5 separate regions of the Homo sapiens genome follow, and all the other regions are linked to region 1. The links are contacts of gene promoters, found by promoter capture Hi-C in human tissues and cell types (Jung and others, 2019). All regions are on one chromosome and are shown on one strand. Each heading gives the region's core, a stretch centred on a gene start or on the middle of the fragment in contact. The rest is flanking DNA. Distances are from core to core; before and after follow the strand shown. Region 1 holds the start of NR2E1 (nuclear receptor subfamily 2 group E member 1). Region 2 overlaps SNX3 (sorting nexin 3). Region 3 overlaps SNX3 (sorting nexin 3). Region 4 has its middle 21 kb from the start of OSTM1-AS1. Region 5 overlaps OSTM1-AS1 (OSTM1 antisense RNA 1).

Evidence for each region. Contacts are between HindIII fragments. The study calls those that stand out against the background at their distance.
Region 2: a fragment that was not itself captured here is called in contact with the fragment with the promoter of NR2E1 in region 1 in 1 of the 25 tissues and cell types used here (pancreas).
Region 3: a contact is called between a fragment that was not itself captured here and the fragment with the promoter of NR2E1 in region 1, in 1 of the 25 tissues and cell types used here (H1 embryonic stem cells).
Region 4: a contact is called between a fragment that was not itself captured here and the fragment with the promoter of NR2E1 in region 1, in 1 of the 25 tissues and cell types used here (thymus).
Region 5: a contact is called between a fragment that was not itself captured here and the fragment with the promoter of NR2E1 in region 1, in 4 of the 25 tissues and cell types used here (H1 embryonic stem cells, aorta, mesendoderm cells and 1 more).

What each region holds. Positions count from the first base shown.
Region 1 is chr6:108,164,586-108,167,285 of GRCh38, reverse strand. NR2E1 (nuclear receptor subfamily 2 group E member 1) reads right to left here and starts at 1,264. Exons shown (of 9, transcript NM_003269.5): 1 at 496-1,264. The coding sequence starts at 520. RefSeq lists enhancers at 1-419, 1,320-2,221. The HindIII fragment of the contact is 11,535 bases long and covers 1-2,700 here.
Region 2 is chr6:108,226,764-108,229,649 of GRCh38, reverse strand. The region is part of intron 1 of SNX3 (sorting nexin 3); the gene reads left to right. Among named protein-coding and RNA genes, the nearest start is that of SNX3, 33 kb to the left of the region's middle. The HindIII fragment of the contact is 3,127 bases long and covers 1-2,886 here.
Region 3 is chr6:108,210,246-108,212,967 of GRCh38, reverse strand. It overlaps SNX3 (sorting nexin 3), which reads left to right. Exons shown (of 4, transcript NM_003795.6): 4 at 714-1,746. The coding sequence ends at 819. Among named protein-coding and RNA genes, the nearest start is that of NR2E1, 46 kb to the right of the region's middle. The HindIII fragment of the contact is 7,794 bases long and covers 1-2,722 here.
Region 4 is chr6:108,100,999-108,103,951 of GRCh38, reverse strand. No RefSeq gene overlaps it. Among named protein-coding and RNA genes, the nearest start is that of OSTM1-AS1, 21 kb to the left of the region's middle. The HindIII fragment of the contact is 3,481 bases long and covers 1-2,953 here.
Region 5 is chr6:108,124,426-108,127,125 of GRCh38, reverse strand. The region is part of intron 1 of OSTM1-AS1 (OSTM1 antisense RNA 1); the gene reads right to left. The region is part of intron 1 of LOC124901368 (a long non-coding RNA gene); the gene reads left to right. Among named protein-coding and RNA genes, the nearest start is that of OSTM1-AS1, 2.1 kb to the right of the region's middle. The HindIII fragment of the contact is 7,245 bases long and covers 1-2,700 here.

The DNA.
Region 1 (2,700 bases), core at 15-2,514:
GTGACTTTTAAATTGTTTCTGCTTCCCAGTTTGCAGGATTATTTGAAATAGCTAGAAACGGGGTGCAAAGCATTCCATTCAAAATCCGCTTTGCACAGAGTTGCTTTTGCGCGCTGGAGCTCGGAGTTTTGAGCGAGTGTGTTATTGTGCTACCGCCTGGAGCTGCGGCCCAGTTCCCGCCCCCATGGCCCCCCCATCCAGCACCTGGCGGCTAAATGGAGACAACTCATCCGACTGGTGGGCTGCGCGGGTCGTAACCTTCTCACCGCACCAGACAGGGGGGATCAAGCAATCCAGAGGCAACGAAACGGCTCTCCCCTCTCCACGAAATGCTCCAACTCACGGTCTACAGGTCTGGGCCGAACGCACACGCCCGCTGGAATCCCTCTCAGGGGCTCAGATTCGCAGCGCTCCAGGCAGGACCTCCCCCAGCCTCCCCGCTCGCTCGCCCCAGGCTGCGCGCCTAGGCCCCACGGCGGCCCGAGAGGTACCCACTTGTTGATCCGGCTGGCTTGCTCATGCTGGCTGTCCCGGGGCGGAGCGGTTGGTGGGCGCTGCCCGAGTCCCGGCCGGCAGCGCCCGCCTCGCCGCCGGGCGCCGCCGCTCTCCAGCTGCCCTCCAGCCTGCAAGGCTCCTGGGCGGGACAGGTGGGTGTCAGTCGCGCGCTGCGCTGCTCCCTGGGCGCTCAGAATTCGTCCAACAGTGGAAATTTAAGCATCCTTAAGTTTCTTCCCGGCTCTTGCAAAACCGCAGCTGCTGGGAATGCTGCTTGATATGGACACACACATGGACAGACAGATGGAGAGATGGACAGGAAGACTGAGGAAGAAGGAAGAACAGCAAGAGAGGGATGTTGAAAGACAGAGATGGAGACACGAAAATGGCCTTCCTACGGAGCGAAATCCCTCTTTTTCCCCATTCCTGTCACTCAGTCTTCGATCTCTCCCTCTACATAGGCATGCAGAGTGTGGGCAATCTCTGCCGACCGCTGGTCTCCCAAGGAAAGAAGGAAAACACTACCGCAGTCTCAGAGGCAGACGGGCTCCGCGCTGCCGGAACCCAAGCGCAGAGTGGGAAAACTAGATTGCTGGGAAATCTTCCGAGGGAAGAGGCGGCCAGGTCCGGGTTTCCGGGGAGAGCCGCGCACGCAGCGGCGAAGGGTCCCCGAAGTTCATTACCCCGTGACTTTGTGCCTGTCGCTGCGGGCTGGGTCCCCTGTAATATCTCCAGAAGCGCTCTGACAGGCAGCCGCGGGGAGGGGAATAGGGCGTCCCTGGCCCACTTAGCTTTTCCCCCAACTCCTGGCGGGGTCTGACGTCAGCCATGTGCGGGGAGGGGATGGGAAGAGGGAGGGGGTTAAATGCTAATGATATTAATGAACCTCCAAGCGGCTCCCAAAGAAAATGCAGGCGCTGTCGGAGCTTACGAGTTAGAAAGTGTGAATATGGGAGTGTGGCTCTGTGCGTGCGTGATGGTGAGGACGGTGCGGCTCGTAATAAAAATGAATTCGTATATTTCACGGCAAGAAGGAAGGGGAGGGGTGACGGGGCTTTCTCAAAACGCTTTTCCCCCTCTCTCCAGAGTGCCAGATAGATTCGCGGAAGAAATTGGGTGGCTGTGTGCTGGCGTGTGATTGTGCGCGCCGGACATGGCCATGTGAGTTGGTTCATTCTTGGTCCGGTGCCCCTTCTGTTGGGTAAAACTTGGATCTGGCCCGAGGTGAGTAATTTACTCATTTTGCACATATCTACGGAAAGTCAGGGCTGAGGATGGGGTCTTCTGGAGGTTCCGCGTTCCTTCGGCCTTCGCGCAGTGGGTTTGGGCACCAGCCGAGGGGAGGATGCCGCCAGCTTCCCCAAGCAGAGCTGGCCCATCCGACGCTGAGCGAATCTCTTGTCGCCTCCATTATCTGCACCGGGGCGGCTGGAGGGCAGAGCGTTCCCTCCCGCCGCTCGTCCTCGGCGGGCGTTGCGGGCTCCCGCTCTCCGGGCGGAGGAATAGTGAAGAGAGGCCCTCATCCCCTACCCCCTCCCCATTCCGCTTGCCTTCCCGCGATTCCTGAGCTCTCTCGCGCCTTGCTCTGTGCGCGGCGCTGGGAGAGCGCATGCCGAGGGAGCGATGATCCCCGATCTCTAAGAGATTAATTCTATTTAAGCTCTCTCGGCAGCTTGAACTTGTCGAACAAGAGCTTGCCAGTCCCTCCTCAGGGCGTGGACCCGGCCAGAGGTCAGAGGTTACACCTCCCGCCCTCCGCTCGACGTTCGCGGGGAGGGGAGCTGTGGCCGGCGCTCTGCAATTCCGCCAGCCCACCCCCCGGTCCCTCTTTCTCCAGACTCGGTGTCATCCCGGGCTTTCAATCAGAGTTCGCCTGTGCGTGCAAGTGAATGCTGGAGTCCCCCGAGCCCTGGGAGGGCGCAGCAGGTCCTCCGCCTGGGCGTCCCAGGGGGAGCGGGCTGTGCGCTCCAGTGGGCTCCGACAGCACGTGATTGCAACTTTCTGCCCAGCCTTGGCTCGGCCTCGAGCTCGGGGTCTCGCACACCACACACACCAGAGCCTGTGTCCTCCTTAGTGGGGCGCCGCGACCAAGGCTGGGGTCCCGGGGAAAGAGCAAGATGGGGGGATCTTTATCTCTCAGTTTATTCCCTCCTCCTCGGTTTTTCGAATTGGGACGAGATTGGGGGATTGTGGGACGAGGCCATA
Region 2 (2,886 bases), core at 137-2,636, 62 kb before region 1:
CGCCATTTTACCCTAGCATGGGCGACAAGAGCGAAACTCTGTCTCAAAAACAAACAAAACGAAAAAGAGTCCTGACTGGCCGTACGCAGTGGCTCACACCTCATATTCCAGCACTTTGGGAGGCTGAGGTGGAAGGATCCCTTGAGCCCAGGAGTTCAAGACCAGCCTGAGCAACTTAGGGAGACCCTGTCTCTAAAGGAAGGAAGGGGAGGGAGGGAGGGGGAGAGGGAGGGGAAGCAGAGAGACTGAGGAAAGGAAAGAAAAGGAGGGGAAAGAATGAATGAATCCGGGCCAAATCAATTGTCAATTCTTCCGTGCTTTTCATATTATACAAATGGTATTATGCTATATAATATACTGTTCTGAAACTTTTTTTTTTTTTTTTTTTTTGAGGTGGAGTCTCGCTCTGTCGCCCAGGCTGGAGTGCAGTGGCATGATCTCACCTCACTGCAACCTCCGCCTCCCGGGTTCAAGCGATTATCCTGCCATAGCCTCCGGAGTAGCAGGAATTACAGGCTCGTGCCACCTCACCCGGCTAATGTTTGTATTTTTAGTAGAGATGGGGTTTCACTGTATTGGCCAGGCTGGTCTTGAACTCCTGACCTCAAGTGATCCACCCGCCTCAGCCTCCCAAAGTGCTGGGATTATAGGCATAAGCCACCGCACCCAGCCTGAAACTTTTTACATGTCATACATTCTAGACAGCTTTTCTGATTAACCTATGGCTGAGTTATATTTTGTAAAAAGCTGTGTAATATAAGCTTGTAATGTAAGATTTATTGTTTCTGGTCTTTTTTGGGGTTTTTTTTTGTGTCTATTACAATGCTAAAATATTTTTGTATGTGTGGAAATATTTGTAGGATTAATTCCCATTGAAATTGTTCATTCAAAAGTTATGTGTATTTAATAGAGTAATGGATAATGTATTCACCAAAATGCCCCCCTTTTTTTTGAGACCGTCTCCCTCTGTCACCCAGGCTGAAATACAGTGAGTGATGTGATCACAGCTCATGCAGCCTCAGCCTCGAAGGCTGAAGCCATCCTGACACCTTATCTTCCCACTACAGGCATGTGCCACCATACCCAGCTAATTTTTTTTTTTTTAAACAGAGTTTCGCTCTTGTTGCCCAGGCTGGAGTGCAGTGGCGCAATCTTGGTTCACTGCAGTCTCCGCTTCCCGGGTTCAAGCAGTTCTGCCTCAGCATCCCGAGTAGCTGGGATTACAGGTACCCGCCACCATGCCTGGCTAATTTTTGTGTTTTTAGTAGAGACAGGGTTTCACCATGTTGTCCAGGCTGGTCGCGAACTCCTGACCTCAGATGATCCACCCGCCTTGGCCTCCCAAAGTGCTGGGATTACAGGCATGAGCCACCACGCCCAGCCTGCCCAGCTAATTTTTTATTTTTTGTAGAGATGGGGGTCTCACCATGTTGCCCAGCCTGGTCTCAAACTCCTGTGATCCTCCCACCTCAGCCTTCCAAAGTACAGGGATTACAGGCTTGAGCCATCATGCCCAGCCAGTTTGTAGTATTTTTAACCATGGAAATTCAACTTTTTATATGCTTATTTTCTAACCTTGATTGGTGTATGTTTCATAAGGGCCAGGTCTGCATCTTATTCATCATTATAAATAATGATTCTCCCTTATCTAGCATGGTGCCCTTTTATAGATGATCAGTAAATAATAGTTTAGTCCTCCTGAAGCTGTAGGTAAAAAACCTCTCCGCCCTTCAATCATTTTATGAAAGTTAAATAAATTGAAAGTGACCAATCACAGGAGTTTCAGCAGTGATAGTTCAGTACCTTAAACAACAACAACAACAAAAAAAAAAAACCCACATTTTGCACTTAGTTATTTTAATCAGTTACATTGAATTACAAATCCTTGTAATGATGAGGAAGACGTTTAACAGGCTAAGTTAACCACTGCATATGTAATGGGCAAGTGATGTTTGAATTTCTTGATGTGACTTTAAACTCTAAAGCAGTCCTCATGCAAAAAGAGAAATCATAACCAGTTAAGAAAACTAAAGGAACTTTCTTAAGCTAATCATGGTCCTCTAAATTTAAGTATATAAACTATCAAACTATTAGCTAATCATAGAAGGGAAAGTACTTTTCCCCCTCACCCCTCCCCTTTCTGTTAGAGTGAATCAGATATAATCATGATTGTGTCAAAAGTTCAAAAGGGAAAATGGAAGGTAAAATGAGCTGAATTGGCACTCTTCTCTCAACATTGTACCTGTAAGCTTGATATGTTGTTTCAGAGATTAACTTTATAGACTTCCGTACCCAGAAGTATGAAAATTCTTAGGGGACTCTTTTCGCAAGCTTGATCTTAACGTATTTGAATAAAGAGAGCAGTTAATCCCCTTTGTAAAGTAATTTGAGAGGAGGGAATTCAGAATGTAAAATCTCACCTGCAGAAAACACTCAACTCTGTAAAGGCCTTTTTATCTTTAAGGCATTTACAAAGACTTAATATTTTAATGCGGAAGGGTGAACTTGGTTAAAAAGCCAATAGGTGAAATTAGAGAGAAATAATCCAGTGCTTTCTTTCTGGGAATTATTCTACTCTCCAGGGGACCTAATTTTATTCCCTGTGGGGAATGAGAATACCCTCTGTACAACAAGCCAGCATCTTTAAATATAAGCTTGACTTTTAGTATAATAAGAGTCTTGTTAGGTGCAATTTTTTCCTTAGTCATTTATACAATGAACAAATGTTGTGGTTACCTGGGAAAGAAAATTCAAGTGCTTTTAAATCTCTTGTGAGATTTGGTTTCATGCTTGAAACCTATACACTGTTATGCCCAATAGCATCTGTTGAAAATTCTGAGCTGTAAGGTATACAACATAGAGAAGTTAATACACTTAGGAAAAAAT
Region 3 (2,722 bases), core at 191-2,690, 46 kb before region 1:
TGCAGTGAGCCAAGATCACACCACTGCACTCTAGCCTGGGTGATAGAGCAACACTTTTGTCTCAAAAAAAAAAAAAAAAAAAAAAGATTCTTAGGATCAATTGACATGCTTCACTTTTAACATTAAAATTAATTTAAGTTTCTTATGAATACACCAGCTATGATGTAAAGCTAATTGGGTACATGTGCCACAAGCAGTGAAAAATTTGTGATTAATGTTTTCTTAATTAGAGTTGTGAACCAAACAAAAGAACATATACCATTAGTTGATAGTGCATAGCTTTATGGACAGTCCAGAATAATACTTATTGGTAAACTGTACATGATTCTGAGCCGGGCGCAGTGGCTCACGCCTGTAATCCCAGCACTTTGGGAGGCTGAGGTGAGCAGATCACTTGAGGTCAGGGATTTGAGACTAGCCTGGCCAACATGGTGAAACCCCGTCTCTAGTAAAAATATAAAAATTAGCTGGGCATGATGGCACACGCCTGTAGTCCCAGCTACTCAGGGGGCTGAGGCACGAAATCACTTGAACCCAGGAGACGGAGGTTGCCATGAGCCAAGATCAGCCACTGCACTCCAGCCTGTGCAACAGAGCAAGACTCCATCTCAAAAAAAAAAAAATTATACATGCTTCTCAACTTTAAAATATGTGTTTTGAACTCCCCCACCTTGTATAAAATATTGGACTAAATTTATATTTTTTATTCTCAGGGTCGCTGGTCATCCTCTGGCACAGAACGAACGTTGTCTTCACATGTTTTTACAAGATGAAATAATAGATAAAAGCTATACTCCATCTAAAATAAGACATGCCTGAAATTTGGCAAGAAGGGGCAAAAACGTGACTATTAATGATTGATAAGCACCAGTGAAGAAGTTCTAACTTTTAGCATGCTGCACAGAAACTGGTATAACATGCCTTCAGTATACTAACACTCATATGCTCAGTTTTGTTTTGTTTTGGCAGTTGACAAGAAGTTAATTTGCTTTAGTAAAAATCCCTCATTCCAGCCTTTCTATATAAATAGCTCTTTCTTGCTGTTTTAATGTGGTGCACACTATAGCCTCACAAACCTGTTATTCCAGTGTAATCTGCAGTGTCGTAACTAAAGTTACTGGCTTGGTCTTATTTGCACAGTTTTTGCGTCTTGTTTGCTTCTTGCATCTGATTAACTAGAATATTTCTCTTTCCCCCTTTTAATTTGTGATGTCACTTGACCCCATTTATGTGTAGGAGCACTACACCATTGGTTTCCAATACTGCACACATAAGATACATACTTGTGTGCAGAAAGTATCTTCCTCCAGGCTTGTAATACCCTTCACATGGAAGATTAATGAGGGAAATCTTTATATTCTGTATAAAAACAAAAGCAAATTTATATACTAAAATCATTTGTCTAAAAATTTAAGTTGTTTTCAAATAAAAATTAAAATGCATTTCTGATATGCACTGATTGTGTTGCCTCCAGCTTTTTTTGCTCTCTATGAGTGACTACTTAAGTCACTTGTTGAGAGGGATTATTTACTAATTATATACTTCTCATTCCTGTAACTCCATTCCCTTTAAACAGTGGTGATATCAAATATACTTCCATCCATTGAATGGGGTATTTTTAACAACAACAAAAGTGATATACTAAAAAATGTATTGCTTAAGGCTTATTGAATCATTTTGAAGCACTTTGTGTATTTGAAAACTGCTTTATAATCTCATTTATTAAAAGGACTTTCAAAGATAAAATACCATTTCTCCTATTTTTCAGAAGTTTTTTCCTAGTCAACTGAGTGACTTGTTTAAACAAACTTAGCAAGGGTGTAATAACTCTTCTTAGTCAGCAGGTTTGTGCTTTCTCTTTAATTTGGTTTGGGATAGTAGCACACTTTATCCTCTTTAAGAGAAGGGCACAGTCTTCTAGCCTGACCTGCAAAAATGATAAGATACCAGAAAACACATGACTTCTTGCTGCCTAACTTGTGTTGTGTTCAGACCTTTCAGCCAGAATGTGGTCTCTAGTTTGTACAACTTGCGGTGGTTTGGGGACCCATTGTGACTTGGAGTTAAATCCCAAAGTAAAGAAATTTTGTCCTCCTACAGCAGATGCGTCTCCTCTGAAGATGGATCAGTCCATTTAAAAGGAAACAAGCTTGGGTCTTGGCCAAACTAGGATGTCCACCAAGCACATAGAAGTCATAGGAAGAAGTCAGAGTTGCCCCATAAGGCCTTTTGTTGCTCAAACAGTATTTCACAGTTCCCTAATACTGGATGTTTCAATTACTGTAAGAAGGTACAAAGCTAAACAACATGTAAATTTTATTTCAGTGAACTAGAGAAGTAAAGTCAGAGGCTGTCAGTTTTGGGTATGCAGAACAGAATAATGGTAGCTCTGCAAAACCAAATAATTCTTTAAAGCAGTGGTTCTCGGCAAGGCACAGTGGCTCTCACCTGTAGTGCCAGCACTTTGGGAGGCCAAGGCAGGGGGATTGCTTGAGGCCCGGAGTTCTGAGACCAACCTGGGTAACATAGTGAGACTATGTCTCTACAAAAAGTTTAAAAATTAGCTGGGCATGGTGGTGTGTGCCTGTAGTCCCAGCTACTTGGGTGGCTAGGTGGAAGTGTATCTTGAGCCCAGGAAGTTGAGGTTGCAGTGAGCCAAGATCATGCCACTTAATTCTAGCCTAGGCAAGAGTGAGAGACCCAGTCTCAAAAGAAAATTTTT
Region 4 (2,953 bases), core at 233-2,732, 64 kb after region 1:
GTCTCTACTAAAAATACAAAAATTAGCTGGTCGTGGTGGCGGGTGCCTGTAATCTCAGCTCCTCAGGAGGCTGAGGCAGGAGAATTGCTTGAACCCAAGAGGCGGAGGTTGCAGTGAGCCGAGATCGCGCCATTGCACTCCAGCCTGGGTGACAAGAGAGAAACTCTGTCTCAAAAAAAAAAAAAAAAAATTTCCTAGTCTAGAAAAGTGAGTGTGCACAGGCCTGTGGTATAAGTTTATTGACTCAGTGACCATGCAAGGAAAGTGCATGTTGGATGTATGAAAATGGATATATTTGGATATATGTAGGCATTAGCTGCCTACAAGCCTACGAACAGAGAGAAAGTGAACTTGTTTCTTTTTTTCTTTTTATTATGAAAAATTTAAAACATTACAAAGAGTAAGGACATAATATGATAAACACCCATATATCAATCACTTATGTGTAACAATTGTTAGTATTTTGCCTCATTTGCTTAATTTTTTTTTTGCTAAAGTATTTTGAAGAAAATACATGCTGTATACATCCCTAAAAGTTAAGAACAATTTGTCTACACAGCCTCAATGCCTTATCACACCTGACAAAATTAGCAAATGTTCTCTAATATTCTCTAATATCTACTTTACAAAATAAGCTTCACATGGTCATTTCATGGGTAAATGGAATTATGAACATTAAGTAGAGAAACCCATTCTCTAGCGACTGATATTCATCTTTATTGTCCACAGAGGTAGCTTGGTGTTATGAACAGCATTCTAGGGCTGAGGACAGCTGGGTTCTATTTTTGGGTCTGCCACTTACATATTGCTTAATTGCTCTTTGTCTCTTGCTCGTAAACAAAGAGGATGGACCAGTATTTGAAGAGCTGATAACCTGTAGGCCTAAAGATTATTTGGCTGTATTTTCACACATTATTGGGATTGTTCAGGGATGATGCAGGAAGAAATTGTTCTATCATAGTCGCAAACATTATTTCTATCTAAGGTAGCATTTTTTCCCTACAAGAATACACTTGTTTCACTATCTCCTTATTCTTTTCTTCTATGATGCTACTTAGTTGGGTTAAAATGATGGTGTCACTGTGGCTACCCCTTACAAGAAACTGAACCAGAAGATTTTTGGACTTTCCCAGAGTGACACAAGGAAGGAGATGAATGCCTCTAGGTTTTTAGTTCTTGACCAGCGTGATGGCCAGCTTTAAGTATTAACTTGGCTAAGATATAGCAGTACCCAGGTATTTAATCAAACAGTAATCTAGATATTGCCATGAAGGTATTTTGTAGATGTGGTTCACATGTACAATCAGTTGACTTTACATCAGAGAGATGACTCTCAATAGGTAGGGGGTCCTCATCTAATCAGTGAAGGACTTAAGAGCAAAAACAGGTTTCTTGAGAAGAAATTCTGCCTCAAGACTGCAACATCAACTCCTGCCTGAGTTTCCGGCCTGCTGGCCTGCCCCACAAATTTCAGACTAGCCAGCTGCCACAATTGTGTGAGGCAATGCCTTTATTTATTCCATAAAGAGATCATCTAATATATACAGTATATATCCGATTGGTTCTGTTTCTCCAGAGAACCCTAACTGATACAATCTGCTTTATAGACCAGAATAATTTTGAGCATATGTATGGTATATATTGCAAATTAGTTTGGCTTCCTCTCAGAATTTTATTAGTGTGGAATTTTAACTCTTTAGATACATGCTGTTTTGAAATCTAACTGTTTAATATCTAAGAAGAAAAACATTGAGCAAAAACAATACATCACAGATGGCAATGGTTTATTCAAAAGGAGAATAATGAATGCATAGCACTGGAGAAGCACCTGAAACTCCCTGGAATCACCTCCTAAATAAACTGCCTGAGCACAAGTCTTTAGTTCAAGCTCTGTTTTTTGGAAGCATCTAGGTTGAGACAATGACAGAAATTTACTATCAAGGAATGGCTTCAGGCTGTGTGCAATGTCTCACGCCACTAATCTCAGCACTTTGGGAGGCCAAGGTGGGAGGATCACTTAGGCTATGAGTTTGAGATCAGTCTGGGCAACATAGCAAACCCTATCTCTACAAAGAAACAAAATTAGAAAAAAAAAAAATTAGCCTGGCATGGTGACACGTGCCTGTAGTCCTAGTTTCTCAGCTACTCAGGAAGCTGAGGTAGGAGGGTCACTTGAAGCCAGGAGTTCAAGGCTGCAATGAGCTAGATAGTGCTACTGCACTCCAGCCTGGGCAACAAAGACCCTGTCTCTTTAAAAAAAAAAAAAAAAAAAAAGGGTGTGGGGGCGGGTGGGGAATGCCCTGGCCTCAAGAAGCAATTGGACCTGTTCATTAGAAATAATTCAAAATTAATTACTTCAAAATCATTTTTGAACAACAATGTTTTTCAAACATTAGTTTGGAGCTCTTTATATAAAGAAATCTTATTCAGAAATCCAGTGTACAAACAAAGAGAACTGGGCTTCCACTTGTATCCTTCTTCCAGAAAGTGCCTAAAATGTATTTGTGTTAGCGTGCTAGGGTGCCATAACAAAGTAGCACAGACTGCAGGGGGTTTACACAGCAAATGTGTTGTCTTACAGTTCTGGGGGTAGAAGCCTGAGATCAAGGTGTCAGCAGGGCTGGTTTCTTCTGCAGGCTGTGAGGGAAGTATCTGTTCCAGGCTTGTCTCCTTGGCTTGTGCATGGCCACCTTCTCTCCTGTGTCTCCTTACCTTGTCTTTCCTCTATCTATCCCTGAATCCAACTATCACCATTTTATAAAGACACCAGTCACATTGGATTAGAGCCCACTCTAATTGACTTCATTTTAACTTGATTACATCTTTAAAGGCTATCTCCAAATAAGGTTACATTCTGAGGTACTGGGGGTTAGGACTTCAATATATGAATTTGGGAGGGGACACAGTTCAACTCATAATAGTATTTGAACACTTTCAGATCACAGTTTGAAAA
Region 5 (2,700 bases), core at 100-2,599, 40 kb after region 1:
TCAACAAATATTTACCAAGGAGTATGTTGTTGAACAGGAACAAACATGGTCCCTGCCCTCATGGAGCTGACAATCTGGTAATTGAAGCACCCTCATACATTAAAAAGGCACTGGGGAGATGCTTCACCTCTCCCTCATGGGTTTTCTCAGTCCCTTCCAACATCACTTCTGACCAGGACTAGAAAGAAGTGGGGAAAGCAGGACAAACACGAGGGTCTGGCAGTCCAAAAAAGGGCTGGGGACTGAACACAAACCCCACATCAAGATTTTCAGATCACTGTTCCTGGCTGGGAGTTGGAAAGCTTGTTTTTTCTTCTTTTGTCACTGAGGCTAGAATATTCTCAGTGATCCTGCTTTTTTTTTTTTTTTTTTTCTAACAGTATCCAAATGCCATGTCTTGGTTTAACTTCAATCTGACAGTAACAAATATTTTTGAGAGCCTATGAAGGGTCAGGCACTGTGTTGGGCACTTTCCATATTTTGTCGTTAATTCTCATAACAACTTTGCAAGGTAGATACTATTACTATTCTCAATCTGCATTTGAAGAAATTGCAGCTTGTAGAGGATGTGGCCAAGATCACAATAGGTGGTTACAACAGAAATAAACCCAGTTCTGTCCTACTTGAGTGCCTTTCCTCTTCCTGCCTAGCCATGCAGGGCCTATAGTCAAACAGAACAGTGGGAACTTTGTTTTCCTATTTCTTCCCACAATAGGAGGGAAATGCTTTTCCAACACATCAAAGAATAATGATAACAATAGCTAATATTAACTGAGCAATTACTATGTGCCAGACACTATTCTAAGATCTTTACATATATCAACTCATTTAATCCTCATAAACCTATGAGTGGTTACTCTTATTATTTAATGTTATCTATCTGTCATTTTATAGATAAGAAATGGAGAGGTTAAGCAATATGGCAGAGGCAGTTTGAACTCAAGTTACCTGAGTCTAGAACTTTAAAATTGTTATTTCAGGCAGGGTGCGGTAGCTCATGTCTGTAATCCCAGCACTTTGGGAGGCCAAGGCAGGTGGGTCACTTGAGGTTAGGAGTTTGAGACCAGCCTGGCCAACATAGTGAAACCCTGCCCCTAACAAAAATACAAAAAATTAGCCAGGCGTGATGGCAGGTGCCTGCAATCCCAGCTACTTGGGAGGCTGAGTTGAACCCAGGAGGAAGAGGTTGTAGTGAGCCAATATGGTACCATTGCAGTCCAACCTGGGCAACAAGAATGAAACTCCATCTCAAAAAAAAAAAAAAGTTGTTATTTCATCCCAAATAAGTACACTACTTTCAACATCTATCACAGTTTTCTTAAGTTGCTGAAATAAAGGATGGGAGTGACCCCTCCGTCCTCACCTCCTACCCCCATGAGCAGAAGACACAATTCTGTCCACCCATAGTCTGTGTGAATGTTTCCCTCCAGCACAGTGCAGTGTGGAACCTATATAACTGTAAGCTGCAGCCATGAATTCCATCCACCATGAAATGGCACATGACCAAAAAATGCATGTACTGTATTCTAAATCTGAGCTATCTGCCTAATTTAGTTTTTGTTCCCAAGTGTAAAACATTCCAAATGTATAACATATCCCATAGATATGTGAGTTCCCTCAAAGGGTTAACAGCTCTCCTTGAGAAGAGGAATTGAAGAAACCTGAGAAACATTTTCTTTACCAGTTCAGGCAGGTGACAGAAAGGTAAAAAATTAATTTTAAAAATATGAGATGTTTGGGTCTTTATTCCCACTGGCTGGCTATTTGGGCAAATTGGGCAGTGGCATCACTGATTGGGCTCCAACTGCGGGCACAGCAGAGGCAGAAGGCAGCAGGAAATTATCAGGGCATCAGGCTGATGAATTCTAACCTCAGTCCACTAATGTCTCACCTAAGAACACGCTCCTTCTTTCTGCATCTCGGAGACACACATGAAGGTTCTCTGAAGCAGGCTGATATCCTCTAACGTAAAGGATGATATCCTATAGTTTATGGCTGGAACCATTAAGGGTGCTTGATAACTGCTCATTAAATAAATTAAGTGCCTAAAATATAATTACTGATGTTCTACTTTTCCCCTGTCTTTGCTGCACCACAGGAAAAAGTTTCCACGGCCATTGATTTATATGAGCAAAAACCAAAATTAAATTAAGAGGTCACACACCAGTAGCAAAAACAAAATGAGGAAAACATTTTCTAATGTTTTACTGCAAAGGAATCGGGGCTTTTACGTAATAGCAAAATTAGGGTTTAGATGGTAGTATTCTTTCAACCAACTTTTCACAAATATTTCCTGGAACTGGCCCAAGGAATGAATCCTAATTTAGCCTAATCTTTTTCAGATGTAATTGAATTCACTTGTTTAGGTTTCTGCCTCCTCCACCTTTCATCCGGTGGCAACACACGAGTGTGGCTTAGCTCTCACAGGGCCCACGGTTTAGTCTGCAGGCCATGTTGGGATCCACTTCTCCAGGGATTGGCCAGAGATCTCTGAGGCTCTCAGTCCTTTCTTCTACAGCTACTGTTTTCCCCCCACCCCTGAGAAATTCCTCCAGACCTTGTTTGTACTCCCCCATCTACTTATCAACTCCCCCCTCCACCTCTCTGCACCCCAATCACCAAAGTTTACTATGAAAATGAGTGACCCCATTTGCTGAGAAAGAGATAGTCTCTGGGAGCAATTGAGTGAGAGAAAACATG